2 separate regions of the Homo sapiens genome follow, and region 1 is linked to region 2. The links are contacts of gene promoters, found by promoter capture Hi-C in blood cells and fetal thymus (Javierre and others, 2016). All regions are on one chromosome and are shown on one strand. The core of a region is centred on a gene start or on the middle of the fragment in contact, and the rest is flanking DNA. Distances in the headings are between cores, read along the strand shown.

The links. Contacts are between HindIII fragments. The CHiCAGO score rates a contact against its expected background, and 5 or more counts as called.
Region 1: a fragment that was not itself captured here is called in contact with the fragment with the promoter of NAA35 in region 2 in 1 of 17 cell types (neutrophils); the score reaches 11.9 in neutrophils.

Annotation. Positions count from the first base shown.
Region 1 is chr9:94,161,229-94,164,408 of GRCh38, forward strand. No RefSeq gene overlaps it. Among named protein-coding and RNA genes, the nearest start is that of MIRLET7A1HG, 3.4 kb to the right of the region's middle. The HindIII fragment of the contact is 1,761 bases long and covers 972-2,732 here.
Region 2 is chr9:85,939,589-85,942,966 of GRCh38, forward strand. NAA35 (N-alpha-acetyltransferase 35, NatC auxiliary subunit) reads left to right here and starts at 1,558. Exons shown (of 23, transcript NM_024635.4): 1 at 1,558-1,685; 2 at 2,567-2,695. The coding sequence starts at 2,572. RefSeq lists a silencer at 1,462-2,141. The HindIII fragment of the contact is 5,629 bases long and covers 1-2,582 here.

The DNA.
Region 1 (3,180 bases), core at 602-3,101, 8.2 Mb after region 2:
TAGCTGGGACTACAGGCATTTGCCACCTTGGCTGGCTAATTTTTTTTTTTTTAAGTAAAGGTGGGATTTCATCACATTGCACCATGTTGCCCAGGCTGGTCTCAAACTCCTAAGCTCAGGCAATCTGTCTGCCTCAGCCTCCCAAAGTGCTAGGATTACAAGCATGAGCCACCGCGCCTGGCCATCTCTTCACTTTTAATTCTACGCTTCGAGAGATATTTACTGGGTACCTACTGCGTTTGCCAGGCCCTGTTCTAGAATGTAAAATACAGTAGTGAAAACATGCCAGACAAGTTCCTCGCCCTCATGGGGGTAGAACATCAATAAAACAAGCAAGATGGAGCCAGAGAGTGCCAAAATGTTACAGTGTTACAAAAACAGAGTGGTGAAATCTCATTAAAGATGGAGATTTACACTGGGTGGCCAGCAAAGTCCTCCCTAAATAGGGGAGGTTCAAGTGCCATCTGGGTGACAAGGACCAGCCAGACGAAGATGGGACAAGCATGCCAGGTGACCTGAGCAGTGGCAGGAGTGGTGAATGGAGAGGGAGGCCCAGGCTGGACACGGGAGCAAGCTCGGACTTGAACCCAAGGAATACCATGCGCTGCTTTGCTCTGCAAGCAGGTTGTTCTGTTTGACCCCAGACAAACAGCGAAATGCATGCTCTTCCTAACCCTTGCCAAATAATGATCATTAATGACAACCAGGCTGTTTATCACTCAGCAATCCCAAATCACTTTCCTAGGTATGATCTAGCTGAAATACGGAGTCTCTATCCAAAGGAACTCCGTTCCTAGGAAACGGAGTTGCTGGACATTCACTCATGTTTGTTCTGTTCCAAAGGCTGCATGTTCTCTCCACAAAATGCCTACATGCATGTCTACCACATCGGGCCAGCTTCCGGCAGAAGTATACCCAAATTTCAGGGGCTTACATGAGATGGAAGTCATGTCTTTCTCACTTAAAGTCCAAGCTTGTGTAGAGGGTGCCCTGTGATGCTACCAGGGGACTCAGGTTAGCTCTTCACTGCTGCTTGCAACTGGTGGACATAGTGGCTCTCCACCACACCCCAATCACATCCAAGTAGCTAGAAATCAGAAAGCGGGAGACAGAGGGAATCCAGAACCCCCTTCCATCCTGCTCACAGCTCACCAGCCAGAACTTAGTCACACAGGTACAGTCAGGGAGTAATTTAAGTCTACCATCACCAAAAAACTGGGTTTCTGTTTATTATAGAAAAAGGAGACATTGGATATTGGGGAACAACTATCGGTCACTGGCATGGCTTTTATTTTTATATTTTTTCCTAGTTATGAAAGCAATACATACTACCAGGAATCCAGATATATATATAAAGAAAATAAAGGTTAGGAGTAATTCCAGATCTAACTGTTGTTATAAGACAAACAAATTTTTTGTAACCTTACTTCTCACTTAATAGTATATCCTGGCCGGGCACTGTGGCTCATGCCTGTAATCCCAGCACTTTGGGAGGCCGAGGTGGGTGGATCACGAGGTCAGGAATTCAAGACCAGCCTGGCCAAGATGGTGAAACCCTGTCTCTACTAAAAATACAAAAATTAGCTGGGAATGGTGGCAGGAGCCTGTAATCCCAGCTACTCAGGAAGCTGAGGCAGGGTATTGCTTGAACCCGGGAGGCAAACGTTGCAGTGAGCCGAGATCGTGCCACTGCACTCCAGCCTGGACGACAGAGCAAGACTCTGTCTCAAAAAAAAAAAAAAAAAAATAGTATATCCTGATAATCTTCCCGTATCAATAAACATAGATCTACATTACTATGAGAACTTTTTTTTTCCCTTGAGACGGAGTCTCGCTCTGTCGCCCAGGCTGGAGTACACTGGCACAATCTCAGCTCACTGCAAACTCTGCCTCCCGGGTTCAAGTGATTCTCCTGCCTCAGCCTTATTTGTCTGTATCTCTTGGATGCCTGTCAGGTGCTAGGCCCTGTGGTGGTGACTGGGTGCACAAGAGAGAGCAAGACAAAGTTCCAGCTCAATGAATTTTATTTCCCCTGTTGTTTACAAATGCTTTGATTTGACTTGTAGATATTTGTCAACCATTAGTATCTTGGTTCTATTGAAGGAGTAAGAACATTTTAAGCTGAAATTCTTCTTTCTTTTCAATTGAGATGGAGTCTCACTCTGTCACCCAGGCTGGCGTGCCATGGCATGACCTCAGCTCACTGCAGCTTCTGCCTCCTGGGTTCAAGCGATCCTCTCACCTCAGACTCTCGAGTAGCTGGGATTACAGGCGCACGCCACCACGCCCGGCTAATTTTTGTATTTTTAGTAGAGATGGGATTTCACCATGTTGGCCAAGCTGGTCTCAAACTCCTGACCTCAAGTGATCCCCCCGCCTCGTCCTCCCAAAGTGCTGGGATTACAGGCGTGAGCCACTACGCCTGGCCACGATCATACCTTTTCATGGCATGTTTGGACCGTAATTTATGCAGTCACCTATGGTGTACTGGTAGATGGTTGTGATTTGAGGCTACTATAAACAAGATGATGAACAGCCTGTGGAGGATCTTTGTATGTTTGTCCTGTTATTTTCTAGGCATAAATTCCTAGCAGTGGCAAAATGCTGGATTAAGGAACACTTTCAAAGATTCCGATTCTTGCTGCCAAATTGGCCCCTAGACTTGCAGAAATTTATACTAATGCCTCCAATGTTTCCTTCTACAATGCCACTGATCAACTAAGAGATAAGAAAGCTTTCATTGTTTAAAACTTTGTCTTTATTTGATTACTAGTGAGGATGAGCATCTTTTCATATTTATTGGCCATTTTCTTTTGTAAATTGTCAGTTCACATCCTTTTTAAACAGTCCATATTTTAATAGGAGTGTTCACTTTATCCTATTGATTTGAAAAAAAAAATCCACTTTATTAAGGATAACATATTAGCAAATGCTTATGTAGTACTTATGTGTACCAAGCACTGTTCTTAGTTCTTAAGATGTTTATATTAATCTTTTCAACAGCCTGTAAGGTAAGTATTGTTATCCCTATTTTATAGATGAAGAAACTGAGGCACAGAAAAGATATACAATTTGCCCGGTACATAGTTGTACAGCTAGGAAGAGGCAGAACTGGGATTCACACTTAGTAGTCTGGTTCCAGATCCTTGCTTTTAACCACTGGACATTCAAATTAATGTT
Region 2 (3,378 bases), core at 308-2,807:
AGTGCAATGGCACCATCTCGGGTCACAGCAACCTCTGCCTCCTGAGTTCAAGGGATTCCCCTGTCTCAGCCTCCCAAGTGGCTGGGATTACAGGCGCACGCCACCATGCCTGGCTAATTTTTTTGTATTTTTAGTAGAGACAGGATTTCACCATATTGGTCAGGCTAGTCTCCAACCCGACCTCTCCACTGCCAGCCTCCCAAAGTGTTGGGATTACACGCATGAGCTACCAGCTACCAAGCTCAGCCTGATTTCTTTTACTCAATATATTTTTGAAATTCATTCATGTTGTATGTCAAGTAGTTTATCCCTGTTTATTGATAATTACATTCATTACATTGTATGGATATGCCACAAATTGTTTTTATTCAACAGTTGATGGACATTTGGGTTGTCTGTAGTTTTTGATGATTAAAAACAAAGCTGGGCCAGGCACGGTGGCTCATACCTGTAATCCCAGCACTCTGGGAGGCTGAGGTGGGCAGATCACGAGGTCAGGAGTTTGAGATCAGCCTGACCAACATGGTGAAACCCCATCTCTACTAAAAATACAAAAAACAGCCTGGTGTGGGGGCAGGCGCCTGTAATCCCAGCTACTCGGGAGACTGAGGCACGAGAATTGCTTGAACCTGAAAGGCAGAGGTTGCAATGAGCCGAGATCAGGTCACTGCACTCTAGCAGGGGCGACAAGAGTGACACTCTGTCTCAAACAAAAACAAAAACAAAGCAAAACAAAGCTGGTATGAACATTAACGTACAAGCCTTTGTATGAATATGTTTTTGTTCCTAAGTAAATTCGTAGATTACTGGATCGAATGATAAGTATATGATTATAAGGAGAGATTGTTAAGTTTTCCAAAGTGGTTGTACCATTTTGCATTACCACCACCAACATAACAGAGGTCCAGTTGCTCTGCATCCTTGCCAACATTTGGTATTATCTTTTCCATCTTTTAATTTTGGGCCATCCTAAAGAACAGGTGGTGATAAAGATGTGCTTCTTACCTGCGCCCGTCTATTTATGTAACCCCATTTAAAAACTGATCATTTTATTAATAAATTAAAAAAATCTAAAACATATAAGAATCTGAAATTAAATGTCTGGCTTGACTTTGCAGATATTTTGAATCTATGTTTCCTCACGAAACTCCCAGGCGCTGTATAGGAAACATAAATCCGTTGTCAGGCAGCAGTAGCACGCTGTTGCTCTCGGAGCTTGGCTGCTCGTTCGTGCTCGCAACCACTAAGGTCTACGCAAACCTCCACGGTTTCCTTCCGCCTTCGCGTCACCTTTCTAAGAAATTCCCAGAGGGCAGCGCAGACGGGGCGGGCTCTGAGACTCCGGGCTCCGCCTCTTTCCGGGAACCGCCCACTACCCAGGACTCCGACAGAGGGTGAAAAAAGATAACTTCCGGTCTCGCGATCGTCTCTAATCTCGCGAGAAGAGAAGGCGGCCGCCATCGGCCGAACGGAGGCGGTGGCGAGGGAGGGGGTGTGGCCGGGGAGCGCGAAGTCCCCGGGAGTAAGGGAGAGGGGGCGGGGTCGCGCGTCCCGGGCATACGCATGCGTGCACGCTGCCGGTCGGGCTGGGCTGAGAGGGGAGGGGGCGGCGGCGGCCGAGGCGGCGTCGTTATTTCCGTGGTCCGGACAGTGCGTGGCGGCGCGGGTGACCACGGGAGAAGTAGGTAGGGACCGCCCCTGCGTAGCCATTGAAACCCTCTCGCTCGTGTGTCCGAGAGCCGCAGCCCCCCGCGCGTGTGGCAGATCCTGGGGACCCCAGGTCACCCTGCGGCCCCGGCCCTCCCGCTGCGCGTCAGGTAGGAGCGGCGGGCTCCCCAGTGCCCGCTGTCGGCCGAGGCCCCACTCTTGCCCGGTGTTGCCGAGGCGACGACCCGGCGCCGGACGTGCCCGCCCTCCCGCGCGGCGACAGCTCTGTCCTTGCTTATGCGCCCAGTGGGACCGGGGCTGGGCTGGGCTGACCCGGGCAGGGCGGAAGGGAAGCGTGTGCCCGCCTCAGGTGTGCCTCGGCCCTAGGCCCGGCCGGCGGGACCCTGCGGTGCCTGCCGGCTCCTCATTGCTCCCGGCGAGGTTCTGCCTGGGTCCGGGCCGGCTCTGGCCCGGGAGAGGTCCCAGCGAGCTCTGGCCAGATGAAGGGCTACCTTGATTGACTTCGGTAGCTGCCGCATGGGGTCCTGGGCTGCGAGAGGGGACCCTGAATAGTGCCTTGGTCTTTTGTGGCTATTATTGAAAGTTGGAAGCTCTGGAGTTGTTCTTTTCGGGCCAGAGGTGAGATGGTTTGTGATTTTTCTTCTTAAACAGTAGGAAGGCAAAATGTTTATGGGCCCTGGTAGGTGGTGGGCTAATAGTAAGCAGCAGGAGTGTTAATTGACGTGCGATTTGATTGCATTAAGGTTATTCTTTGCAGTACTGTCCTTAGACTCAGAAGAGTTCTGCTTTAAAGAGTTTAGTTAAGACTTCATCCTATGCTGAAACAAACACCCATTTCTGCAAATACTCTTGCCCTGAAAGCTACATCCTCTCTCTTACATCAGTATTAATTTTACAGGCATAATGGTTATGAAAGCTTCTGTAGATGATGACGATTCAGGATGGGAGCTCAGTATGCCAGAAAAAATGGAGAAAAGCAATACAAACTGGGTGGACATTACCCAAGATTTTGAAGAAGCTTGTCGAGGTGAGTCTGATTTTTGGATTAGAAGTTCAGCATCTGGAAGGGGTAGAATGACGATTGTGCTTTCTAAACTTACCTCATTAGATGAAATCAACAGGTAAATGTGGTTTGTTGAGTTTGTTAGCCACACTTATTCTGTATCCTCTAATTTTAACTTTAAAGCAAATGTATATTTGATACAGCATTAAATACAGATGTTGAGGCAGTATTTTAAAATTGAATTTTTCTTGCTTTAACAGGTTAGAGAGAGCAGTAATTTCTAACTGTGGAAAACACTTTGTTAATCTAAAAGATAATAGTATTTTTGTATGTTTGAGGTTTCAGTATGATCAGATCACATCATTCCTTGTTTAAGATTGTCCAGTGGCTTCCTGTTGCAGGTAGAATAAAATCCACCCTCCTTCCCTATGGGTCTATAAAATCTGGTCCCTGCCTGCCACTCAGGTTTCATTTATGTGCCACTGTCCCCGCCAGGCTTATTACATTCCAGTCACAGGTCTTTTTTATCTCTTCGTAATACACACCAAGGTGGTTCTCCCAGGTGTTTGCATTTTTTGTTTTCTTTCTTTTAAATTGCTTTGCCCCTCGCTTTCACACAATTCTTCTTAAGTGTTAACCTCCCTGGTGAGGACCTCAAAACAACCACTCATTCTCTCCTCTGCAATTCCACCTCAGTTGAATCACTT